4 separate regions of the Homo sapiens genome follow, and all the other regions are linked to region 1. The links are contacts of gene promoters, found by promoter capture Hi-C in human tissues and cell types (Jung and others, 2019). All regions are on one chromosome and are shown on one strand. Each heading gives the region's core, a stretch centred on a gene start or on the middle of the fragment in contact. The rest is flanking DNA. Distances are from core to core; before and after follow the strand shown. Region 1 holds the start of LMO3 (LIM domain only 3). Region 2 overlaps MGST1 (microsomal glutathione S-transferase 1). Region 3 has its middle 150 kb from the start of LMO3. Region 4 has its middle 130 kb from the start of LMO3.

Region 1 (3,145 bases), core at 123-2,622:
AAAGCAGAAAGGCTTTTGAGCGGCCAGGAGTGCAGAGCGCCAGCAAAGTGCATCTATGATAGACTGTAACCTTACCAAAACTTTTCTCCTTTTTCTGCATGAGTTGACTTAGGCGTGTCTGAGTTGCAGCAGCTTCGCATTGAGCACCAAACCCAAAGGTAGAAGTAGAAGGGGGTCTCCTTGATTTCGCTTAAGTGTGGACCTGGTGCGCAGCCTACACCGCCGAGGACCGACTATTGTGAAGCCACTTTGGGAGCGGGTCGGAGTGGCGGCAGGGGGTGGGGGAAGGGATGAGGACGGCCAGACAAGACAGGGCGCACACACGGAGCCCCTCGCAGTGTGCAAAATGATGGCGAATGACAAAGCCACATGCTTCCCTAACTCTGCCCGTAATCCTAAAATCCCAGCGGCCCCTTTTAGCTTCCTGGTAACAAATGGATTTGATTAAACTGTCACATGCAGCGTTAGCATAGCATATCATGTTCAATATGAAAAAGATCATAAATCTGACTTGTATTTCATAACAGCAATCTGAGTAGTCCCCGTAAAAAATGTGCTGCATCAGTTTGAATCTCAATCTATTAGGATATAGGCACCTTGGTCCAGGGACCTTCCCTCTTCTAGCCACTTCTGCCCCTACCCGCCTGCCCCCCCCCCCCGCCCCCATGCCCAAACACAGCCACTTTTCCACGGCAAAGGAACAACATTTTGTTATTATGGCTGCGTGGAGAGAGGCAGAAGCGTCAACAAGGACCAAAAGATTGTAATATCAACTCTTTAAGAAGTGGGGGTTCATGAATTCCAGCAAGTAAGGGGGAGGGGTCCGGAAACCCACCCAGGACTGAATTCTTTTCCTATGGGCTGGGAGCAAACACTTCCTAATTCCAAACTCTCCCTGCCCCTCTCTCCCCGGGAGTCAGGGGTGTGGAAATACTGCAGTTCATGGTGAACTTTGACTATTATCCACTCGAGTCGTACTTGAGACGTTCCGCGCCGCAGCCGCTCTCCCTCCTTCCATCAACATCTTCCGCCTGCATCTATTTCATGTCTCATCATAAAAATAATGAAGCCTCACATGATTTAAACAAAACCGTCTCAGTAGAGCTGCAGCCCGAGTGAAAGTTGCAGTGCGGAGCTGGGTTGCAGCTCCAGTTTATGCCTCATTAGCAGAGGTTGGGGAAGAAAAAAATACCCACATCCGCACACGCACGCGCGCACCCGCAGACACACACACCACAAATAAGCCGACGCGTGTGTACACAGTTGCTGCACTTACCTTCTCAATTAAGCGATACAGGGGGAGGCCGTTCAGTAAGCACAGTGGCTGCTTTGTAGCGCTTCTCCTTGGGAAAGGTCAAAAAGAAGCATTGTTTGAAAAAAAAAAAAAAGACGGGGGAGGGAATGTCTATTTTTTTTTAAGTTTAAAATAATGAGGTCCTCAAGGATACGCCAAGCAATGGTGTTGACCGCATCTGAGCCACAGGTGTCCTCCTTTTAGGCAACTGCAGTCCGAGGCTGTCTCTCTCCGTCCTGGTTCAAGACAACTTACCCCAGCAGCGTGCGAGGAGCCGAGCTGAAGGAAGCTCCGGCTCTCAGCTGCAAAATGCAATCCCTTCCCAGCCAGACATAATACAGCCAAAGAAAAGGTCACTCAGTTATTAGTGAGCCGGCGGAGCCCAGGCAGCGCTTGTCAAGACCACAGAGAAGCAGCTCCCTTCCGATTTAAGACTATTTACCTCTCGCCCCCACCCCTCCCCTCTTCTTTCCTTCTCTCCCTCCCTCTCTCGCTGGCTCCCTCGCTCGCTCTCGTGTGCCTGTTCTGCAGCTCAGTCAAGTACAGCCGCCCTCGGAAAGTGCAAAGCAGCCACGAGACAGATCGGGCTTTGTTGCTAATTTCCCAGGGTGAAAATTTACAAGCCTGCGAGTGCAGTCAGCACAACCACATGCATATGCTACTCACAAACGCTGGGGACAAACCCGCACACAAAATGTGACCTCTGCAGGAGTCGACTGAGGAAGGACCCTACCTCCTGGACCAGTCCAAAAGAAGAACTCCTGCGAGAGAGCTCCGGAGGAAAAGGGTAGGGTTCCTAAAATAACCAGGGCATTTTGGAATAGGTGGCTACATTTAAAGCAAATTGCCTTCCAAAGCCATTTCTGAAGCTACCAATTATGGAAATTAAAATAAAAGCAAGAGAATCAAACTGCTACCAGAATACCCTGGAAAAAGCACACAACCCTCCCCTTTAAGAAATGCCTGGAGGTGGCTGCAGTCGCTGGTCTGTCTGTGACTTCCATTCATGAACTCTCTGAAGTCGCTGCTCCGCAAGTCCGCCACACAAGCCTGGTTCAGGGGATCACACACACACTCTCCTTCCTCCCTTCCTCCCTTCCTCTAATGGCCCAAGACCCAAACTGTGAACTTGTTCTCCATTCACTAATGCTGACCCCCACCACCACCACCCCGAAACACACTTCCTGCAATTACTTGAATTCCTTACTATTTAAAACTCACACGCTCCAATGAAAAACAGCCAACAGCACTGAGAAACATGTTTTCAGGACTAACTTGGTCAAAGAACCATAGTTTCTGCACCATTACTGCTTTGTCTTCACAGGCTTGTTTTAAGGCCTTGACAGATTTTTTTTTTTTTTCTAATAGGTCCCATTCTCTCTAACCTCCTCTCCTCTTAACTTTCCTTGGCATCTATAAAGGCCACTGGTAGCTTTAAAATACCTTATTATTTTTCTAAGTTTTCAAACTTCAAAGTCACCCTCTGTTTGGGCTGCTCTTAAAGTACCCTCACCAGATTTTACAAAGCTTTGTCAGAGGTCAAGCTTAAAAATGGTCCACATTTGAAAGACACTCACTGAAATGTTTAAGAGCCAAGAAATATTCAATTGTTGAACTACAAAAAACTTTTTTTCTTCTCTTCACCATCAGTTTTAATCTAGCTCTAGTTTTAAAAAAAAAATCAAAGCACCCCCCCCATGAGTATTTAAGCTAAATTTTGTTTTTCTTCATAAAGAATAAAGGCACAACATTGATAACTAGTTTTTACCCCCTCCCTTTTGAAGGCTCATAATAAAATAGCCTGTGGTTTGCTTTCCTCTCCCTTTAAAAGGCAACAAAACTCAGAACTAA
Region 2 (3,145 bases), core at 404-2,903, 240 kb before region 1:
GTGAGGAGTGTTATCTTTGAGAACATTTTGAGGGCTGACGAAAGAGAAAGAGAACTCAAAAGGGAGAATAAGATAAAGAGAAAATGAGGCTAGAAAAACATGCAGGAGCTAGAAAGGTAAAGGAACCCCTGCCCCTTGACCTTCCTTCCCTCTACCCTCATGGTCCTCTTACTGTCCTTGACTTTCTTCTCTGCTTTAACATTCCATTCTATTTGTCAACTGCGTAACACAGGCGTAGAAGTGGACATTGTTTTCCAGAGAGTCTCCTTTTTATAGTTTCTTCCTCAACCTTAAAATGTCTGTCCTTTTGGCATGTTGTGAAGGAGAACACTAACGTGCCTAAGATTGGAGGTGACGATATCTCTGTGATGCTGGGGGAGAAATCACAGGGGCAAAACAAATACTCTAGGTGTCATTGACAAAGTGGGCCCTTCTTTAATAGAAAATGGTATTCCTGTCTTTTCTTTCCCATCTCATTCTCAGTAGTACTTGTATTGCTCCATGAAAGAGAGGGCACAGGAACACTCACACCATCCTCTCTTTGCTTTTATTCTGTATTGAAGCCTTTTCAAATCATTACTTAGCTGGGCTGCTGCTGTCCTCTTCATGTCTCTATGTAGTCATCCTCTTTGTGAGACAAGCTTAGAGATAATCTAGGGAAGACAAGACAAAGGAAAGGAGAGGAGGAGAGTGACGATCGTTGAGCAGGCAATATGTAATAATTATATGCTTATTGCTATAGAAGAGAGTAACGTAAAGCAGAAATAGTTTTCATTTTGAAATACATATCAATAGCTGACAAACTATCAAATTCTCCATTTCTAGCCTAGATTCTAAAGCAATTTCTAATTCTGTAGACTTAAGGGAGGTGACATTTTAAAATTAAGTATTTTTAAAAATGTTGCTGGGCATGATGGCTTGCACCTATAAACCCAGTGTTTTGGGAGGCTGAGGCTGGAGGACTGCTTGAGACCAGGTGTTCAAGACCAGCCTGGGCAACATAGCAAGACCCCATCTCTAAAAAGAAAATTTAAAAAATTAGCCAGGCATGGTGGTGAGGCCTGTAGTCCCAGCTACTCATGATGCTGAGACTCAGGAGTTTGAGGCTGCAGTGAGCTATGATTGTACCACTGCACTTCAGCCTGAGCAACAGAGCAAGACCCCCTCTCTAAAAACAACAATAGCAATGACAACAATAATAATAAAAATGTCAAGTCCATAGTAGATGTGTTTTGTATTCGGTCTTAGCCAGAGAAACCCAAGATGCCACGGTTTGGAGCAAAACTGTGGCTAAAACATGCTTTTTGTTTTCTTCTAGCTCTGTTATAAAGAAAACATTTAGGAAATTCTCTCTTTCTCTCTTTCACCTATCCTACTTTTTGTGTGTCCTTTGTAGTTTTGCACCATCATTCCTAACGAATTTATTTGGCATTTGGAAGATAGGTTAGCAAAAATTTTACTATATTTGAAAGGCTAGTTATGTATTCTGTTATTTAGATATAAGAGCATGAGAGTCTTGATATTAAATTGGTAAATTAATTATTGGCAACCTAGTGGTTTGGGTTGGCAAGGATTCTGTCAATAATCATTTGGTAGAGTAGCAGAAGCAAAGGAGGTGTCTTAAGAAAAATCAACACCAAAAGGGTTTTCTTCCTTCGGGAGAAAGAATTTTTATAAAAAGAATCTTGAATTGCTAATTGTTATGAACCTCATAAGAAAAAAGTATTTTTATTTACAAAAATGAAATGAGTTCTATTAGATAGATGTCGTTTTGATATTCTAGGAACTACAAAATGCCTTCTGTGATATTTAAAGATACACTAAAAATAAAAAGAAACAGAAATAATGAGAGATTCTAAATAAAAGTCAAGTGGGCAAGGAAGCAAGACAATTTGAGAGAAAAAAAATAAATCTTACTTTGAAATTTAAGGATCCATTAGTGCTCAGATTTAGTTTTTAGAAGAGAGAGAAAAAAGGATACATATCTAGTATTTTGAAATTAGTGTCTTTAATAGTTATCTTTTTCCACAGAGCCCACCTGAATGACCTTGAAAATATTATTCCATTTCTTGGAATTGGCCTCCTGTATTCCTTGAGTGGTCCCGACCCCTCTACAGCCATCCTGCACTTCAGACTATTTGTCGGAGCACGGATCTACCACACCATTGCATATTTGACACCCCTTCCCCAGCCAAATAGAGCTTTGAGTTTTTTTGTTGGATATGGAGTTACTCTTTCCATGGCTTACAGGTTGCTGAAAAGTAAATTGTACCTGTAAAGAAAATCATACAACTCAGCATCCAGTTGGCTTTTTAAGAATTCTGTACTTCCAATTTATAATGAATACTTTCTTAGATTTTAGGTAGGAGGGGAGCAGAGGAATTATGAACTGGGGTAAACCCATTTTGAATATTAGCATTGCCAATATCCTGTATTCTTGTTTTACATTTGGATTAGAAATTTAACATAGTAATTCTTAAGTCTTTTGTCTGATTTTTAAAGTACTTTCTTATAAATTTGGATCATGTTATGATTTGTAACATTCACACAACACCTCACTTTTGAATCTATAAAAGAATTGCACGTATGAGAAACCTATATTTCAATACTGCTGAAACAGACATGAAATAAAGAATTTAAAGAATGATTTTGTTTGGTTTTATTTTTCCCAACATTTTATTTTCAAAAGTTTCAAACCTAGGGTAAAGTTGAAAAATAGTACAAAGAACCACTCTGTACCCTGCTTAGAATCGCCAGTTGTTAACATTTTGCATATTTGCTTTCCTTCTCTCTCTGTTTTCTTTTTCTCTGAAACATCTGAGAGTAAGTGGCAGATATCATGACATGTCACTCTTTAAAACTTCAGCACGTTTTTCCTATGAACAAGACATTCTCCAAATAACTACAATACCATTATTACACCCAAGACACTTAGTATTAATATACTAATATTTCATATATAGAGTCCTTATTCCAATTTTTTCATGTTTCCCCAGTAATAGTCTTCATAACTACTTTATTTTTGATCCAGGATTCAAAGATCAAACATTGCCTTCTGTTATCATTTCTATTTAGGTTTCACTTAAATGAGAGAGTTCTTTTGCTTTCTTTCTCTTTTGTATAACCTTGACATTTTTTGAAGAGT
Region 3 (3,145 bases), core at 238-2,737, 150 kb after region 1:
GTCATCTCTTAAGGGAGAAATCTACTTTCTCTAGGCCCTCTGTTTCCCCCTATTGCTCAGAAATAGTAAAAAATGCATCAACAGCCACTTAGATCCTGGAAGACTTTGGAAGTCTTGTGGAGTATGGTTGTCTCCTGCCCTACACAACTACTTTGCTCATAAATTGTTAGGTAAAAGGGAAATACTCTTCTAATTTCCTGTAAAACATTATATTTTAGGGTCTTTTTATAGAAGCTTAGAGTGTATCCTAAAAACTTCATAAAATTAGTTTCTCTAACTCCAGTTTTACTCCACTCTATGCCCATAATTTTAAATGAGTATACTCATTCTAAAATGCAAATATTGATAGGTCAATTCCTTATTTAAAATTTAGAACTGGCATTTGCTTTGCTGTATTTCCAAATTTTCAAAAATAAACATATATTGGTTTTATAATGATGAGGAAATAAATAAATCCATTAGTGACTCCCTCAAGACTTTAAAATAAAGTTCAAGCTGCTTAGTGGGACTAAAATCCCTTCATGTTTTGCATTCTGTCCATTTCTGGAGTCTTAACTTTTGCCACACCCTCACAGGCCTCCTGTCACTGGAGTCCCTGGTTGGTGGCAGGCCCTTGTATACATCTGCATCTTTACAACTTCTGCTCTCTCTCTGGATACATTTTCCATGTTTTCTGCTAGACTAATGGCTACTCATCCTTCAAAGCTTAGGTCTAGACTCAGGTCAGTATTGGATTCTCCGTAATCTCTTTTCTAATGCCTAAGGATCAGTTAAATGTCCCTCATCTGTGTCTTGACAGAATCCTATCAGTATCTTTACTGGGCACTTCCCACATTAAACTCCATCAATTTCTCAACCAGACTTTGTCTATTCTGCAATAAAAAATGTGCTCTCAGCCCAGTGCAGTGGCTCACGCCTGTAATCCCTGCACTTTGGGAGGCCAAGGTGGGAAAATCACAAGGTCAAGAGATCGAGATCATCCTGGCCTACATGGTGAAACCTCATCTCTACTAAATTACAAAAATTAGCTGGGCGTGGTGTCGCACACCTGTAATCCCAGCTACTTGGGAGGCTAAGGCAGGAGAATCATTTCAACCTGGGAGGCAGAGGTTGCAGTGAGCCGAGATCATGGCACTGCACTCCAGCCTGGCAATAGAGCAAGACTCTGTCTCGAAAAAAAAAAAAAAAAAAAAAAGTGCTCTTATTTAACCAGGTTCTGTGCTTTTTATCCTCATATCTATGAATAGTTGGTGGTCAAGTTTTCTTTAATTCAGTGAAGAGAATACACATTTTTTTACCATAATGTTAAAAGTGAGCTTAGTTCCTTCCTATCAGAATTTCCACATTTTAGTCCATATCGACTCCTTATAAAGTCATAAAATAGTAAGTATATTTAAATTGAAATGGGATATATGATTATCATAATTAGAAGCTGATTAGAAATGTATATTTTCTATTGATGTCAGCTTTCCCCAGAGACCTTAAAACTTGCACATCGTGAGACTTTAAGAAGTTTCTGAGGAATATTATTTTTGATTATTGAAGAGATAATACTTTTACAAAAAATGAAGATTATAGAAAAGTTCACAGTGTTTCATATAACAAATAATCAGTGAATGCTGAATTAATAAATAAATGAGTGGTTTGTTTTTGGTAAGTGTAGCTTATCAAACATTAAAAGACTAAATATCATTTACAAATATGCTCAAAAGCCAGTGTTTTGGTCCTTGAACACAAATAAAATTTGCCATTTGCCATATTGTTAAAAAATCTGTTAGTTCTTAGATTTCTTTGGTTAGGAAAGCATTAAAAACTCCTACAAATTGGAAAAAGATTGACTTTCTTTTTTAAACTTTCAGATCAAAATTTTATAAGGTTTTTACAAATTATTCATTCTAAAATTTTAGAACATTAATTCTAAAGGAATTAACCTTCCATTCAGAAATAGCGTGTTGGTAGACTTACATGTAAATTTGTTAGTAAAACTGAAACTGTCCCATTTATGAGCTGGTATTTTACATTTATTTTTAAAAGTTTATATTTTCCTAGACCCTTTATTTCTTGCCCTAGGCCAGGTTTGCACATAAGGAAGAGTTCATTAAAAGTAAGTTATTTTTGTATGTTTTACATATATTCATTTGTTAAGCTATTAATACAACCACACTGATACGTTTTCTGCTGCAAATATATTAAGTGTTTACTGATCAAAGAGCAATTGTATAACCAGAGCCAGTTTCATGGGTGTACAGTCTGCACAAACGATTGGGTGTTTAGAAAGTCTTTCACTTGCTTATGCTTTGCTATTAGTAGGGGCTCTGGATTTTCATTTTGTACTGGCTTCCACAAATTCTGTAGCCAGCCCTATGTATAATTTAAAAAATTATCCTAATTACATTGTCAGGGAGTGCATTGTTAAAATGCCAATTTCTAAACAGCTACCCATAAACCACAAACCCAGAGTTCTAGCTGTCTGCCAGGCTCTGTTCACCCAGCTTAGCTGTCAGGAGTAGCACACGGGTTAAAAGAGAAAGATTCTCCTAAGTGTCAATCCCTCCTGCTGGCTCAAGAGAACAAAGCTGGCAGGCAAAGTGAATCAGATAGCGCACTGTGCACGCCCCAGCTTCAGAATACAGTAAAGCCCATCGGTCTAATTTCAGCTTTTCCAGCCCTGGTAGCATCCCTTTAAGTTTACTAAGTCGGATATACCTGTAAGCAAGCAGTCTAATGTTTTTGTGATCTTGCTGCTGCGAAAGTATTTAATAATAAGCCTCAGAAGTTGGGAGGTAAGAAGGAAACCTATGATGTCTAATGCCAAGGTGGTGTTCAATGTGTTGAAAGTTGATTAAATTTCCTTTTAACACCCCTTGAAACTGACATTTTGCTACCGTTTAAATTTTTTTCCCTCCAAACTATTTTTTATACCCATGATTTACAGTGATATACAGCAAAGCAGTGGCTATGAATTGGCTCAAAATGATTCTAGGCGTAATGAGCAGGGATTGAAAAAGTCTGCTCATGTTCATTTAAGGGAAGGAAAGCTAACTTTATCCTGCAACTGCATGCCAAGGCAGGGTCAAAGATTTCAGACTGCTCGAATAGTACCATCCACATTTTATCGGTTTGAAGTGATAACCGGGTTCCAGAA
Region 4 (3,145 bases), core at 179-2,678, 130 kb after region 1:
GGATGAGTTAAGCAGAAGAGGAAAGAATAACTCAGATTGTGAGCTTGGAGTAATAGGCTGAGTGAATATTTGGGTTGCGAGATGATTTCTATTTTGGAAATGCCAAGTGAGGTGCCCAAGGAACACTCATTTTGAGATATCTTGTAGGCATTTATGCATTCAGCATCACTATCATCACCACCATCACCATTATTATCAACATCATCATTCTCTTCATTATCATCAAATCAAATTATTATAGGAATTTTGAACAAATCACTTGCATAGATGTAAAAAATTGAGATATTTTCTAGAAATGTGTGGTGTCATTATTTTTCTGAAACTACTTATAATATACTTGGTTAGGTTTGGAGGGATGACATGCTACAGCAACCGAGAACAGACTCTTTCAACTCTCTTTCATGAGTGTCAACATGCCTCTCATTAATTTATTTACATAGAGTTTTAGTTTGTTGGAAAAAAATTTCTGCCTTTTCTACTTATTATCCATGGAATTTTGGGCAAATAACTCTATTTCCTCATCTGTAAAAAGGGCAGCTACTGGTGTCTACCCTAAAAGATATCAGTAAAATTCATTAAACTGTTTCATAAAGTATAGACCACTTATATACATTTGTGATATAATCTTTACCGTGTCATTTGAAGCACATTTATAAGGTTTTAAAACCTCTATTTTTATATTTAAGGTTGCACAAGATGATATGCATGGTTCTATGGCTCTAAGATCTTCCATTGTAACTTGACATTTGAATATTCATTTTTTGATTGTCCACAGTTGTTTTTATTAAGTTTTTCTTAATTGCAGAGAATAATAACTCAAATAACCTTAAGCAAAAAGCAATTTGATAAGAGAACGTACATATTGGAATGGGAAGACAAAAGTCAACAGGAAAGAACACAACTATCCTTCTTGTAGGGTCTGCAATGTCATATTCACTCTCTGTCCCTTGGTCTCCCTCTGTCTTTCTCTCTTTTTCAGTGATTCTCATTTCAATTTAAACTTTATCTGAAGGCCAGCTTCTCTATTTAGTCATTGTTAATATTTCCTTATAATTTAGACTTGCAAACAGATTTTAACTTCCCATGACCTTACCCCACCTCTTACCATTCTTATTACTCTTACCATTCTTATTATATTACTTTGACCAAGTATAATACAAAATATGGCACCTGCCTTCAGCAGAGCCTTGACCCTAGGTCCTTCTTCCGCAGTGATGTGGGATGGTGAGCAATGATCGTCTCTATTAAGTATGGTTGGCATCGTCAAAATTATTTCAGGTAAAAAACACAAGCATGGGGAATTTAGCAAGATGGGTATGACTATCCCCTCATCTATTTTGTGCATTGAGTACAGATCCATACTTTTATTATGACAGCCTGAAATTATGTAAGCCAGGGAACAAAACCTCTCTAAAATGCGGGGGAAATATAGGTGGGAAATAGAGTTGAATGAAGGTTGGAATTTAAGCATAAGAGACAGACCGGGAAGAAAATGGTCCTAAAAGTAATATTACAAAAATGGTATTTCTTCATATAATGTGGTTTTTCTAATCACTGAGGGAGCAAAAAAATTAAAATACGAGTTTATGAAACGTAATGAAAACACAACAAATCTCAACACCATGATTGCCAATGACCTGAAGATCAAGAGCATTTTGTTGTCAGATCATTTAGGCTGTGGTTTTCCCAAAGACTACTCTCTAGAACTAGTGTCATACTTGGGTAATAGCACTTTGAAGACTCTGTAGTTAGTGTCTTAATAGATAAAAATTAGTTGTCAGACACATCTCCAGGTCATTTAATCTCTTTCATTTTATCCCTCTAAAATATTTCTGCTAAAGCACCCAAATAACACAACTAATCTTTAATAATCCACTTAGTATTTCCACAAAAGATTTGCATGTTTCACTGATATTTTGGTAGCTGCTTCTTGAGTTTATGAAGGATCAAACACATCAAGAAATTTACTATAATTTTATTTTGCATCAATTTTCTAAAATATTACCAATGGTTTATTAGCCACTAAAATATCAGAATTAACCTATTACTTAGCAATATAATTTTCTTAATTCTTAGTCACACTTCACCCTAATGCAGATCTCTCAAAAATCTAGTTTAATTCAATATGAAGGATAAAGAAAATCAGATCCAATGCACAAGTAATAAATATGTGGCTCTTGCCATGTTAATAAAATGCAAAATAAGAAAAACATCAAGAAAATGAATTACTAGTTTTGTTTTTATAAAACTTAAGCTTCCAGAGGACAAGAATGTTGTCTAACGTATGTCCAAGGTTGTGTACTGTTGGCACTTGGATATTAAAATTCAATATTTACAAGTGAAACATAATTTACTGAGCCATTCCAATGCACAAGCAAATGGGATGTATTGAATATCTTGGGATTGCTGAAATGCACTTTGATTTTATGCAACATCTTGTTAACTTTATCTGTTTTTCATAGCTCTTTTCCATTAGAGGGAGGGCAAGGGGAAAATTGGATCAAGGTCTTGCTTTTTAATACTAGGCATCAACACTATGAAAAAAAATCAAAGACACATTAATAAACTAAATATTACCTCCCACCGCTCTCTGGCTACCAGGCACACACAGTTCTTTCCACGGGACTCCTAAGAGGGCTTTCAATAAAGTAAAACTGTGATTTTGACATTTTTCTTGCTCGCTGCCAGGAAATTCTAAATTGAGTCCCAGTTGTTTTTCAGATTAATCCATTGGAGAAAAGAGAATCTGAACACAGTATTTTACAACTTTTTGAAAATGCATTTAGGCTAAATTTAGGTCTGGGTATATGTATATATCGCTAATTATAAAATGGTCCTCTTACATCAAGCACACCTTAGGAACATGGCTGTTAAAAAAGATGAGGTAAGGCATTTCTAACATGTAAGAGCAAATTTTCTGTGAATAGTAGGAACCAAATGTTTATTAAAATATTTTTAAGACATGCTATATTTTAAAAACTGGCCTGCTTTTAAGAATTGAACTATTTTCTCTCTTAAAATCATAAAAATAAAGAAAAATATCTACTGATAGCTTCGCTATTTGTGTTACATCTAGGAAGAAAATAGTACTTTTTATGAAACCTTACTCAATGAGACTTATGCTTTGAGTTCTTCACTCATATGT

Evidence for each region. Contacts are between HindIII fragments. The study calls those that stand out against the background at their distance.
Region 2: a contact is called between a fragment that was not itself captured here and the fragment with the promoter of LMO3 in region 1, in 1 of the 25 tissues and cell types used here (mesendoderm cells).
Region 3: a fragment that was not itself captured here is called in contact with the fragment with the promoter of LMO3 in region 1 in 2 of the 25 tissues and cell types used here (H1 embryonic stem cells and aorta).
Region 4: a contact is called between a fragment that was not itself captured here and the fragment with the promoter of LMO3 in region 1, in 1 of the 25 tissues and cell types used here (heart right ventricle).

The regions. Positions count from the first base shown.
Region 1 is chr12:16,604,790-16,607,934 of GRCh38, forward strand. It overlaps LMO3 (LIM domain only 3), which reads right to left and starts at 1,373. Exons shown (of 4, transcript NM_018640.5): 1 at 1,277-1,373. RefSeq lists an enhancer at 1-307. The HindIII fragment of the contact is 10,363 bases long and covers 1,118-3,145 here.
Region 2 is chr12:16,361,764-16,364,908 of GRCh38, forward strand. MGST1 (microsomal glutathione S-transferase 1) reads left to right here. Exons shown (of 4, transcript NM_020300.5): 4 at 2,032-2,647. The coding sequence ends at 2,278. Among named protein-coding and RNA genes, the nearest start is that of MGST1, 16 kb to the left of the region's middle. The HindIII fragment of the contact is 4,798 bases long and covers 1-3,145 here.
Region 3 is chr12:16,754,795-16,757,939 of GRCh38, forward strand. No RefSeq gene overlaps it. Among named protein-coding and RNA genes, the nearest start is that of LMO3, 150 kb to the left of the region's middle. The HindIII fragment of the contact is 4,937 bases long and covers 1-3,145 here.
Region 4 is chr12:16,737,310-16,740,454 of GRCh38, forward strand. No RefSeq gene overlaps it. Among named protein-coding and RNA genes, the nearest start is that of LMO3, 130 kb to the left of the region's middle. The HindIII fragment of the contact is 6,874 bases long and covers 1-3,145 here.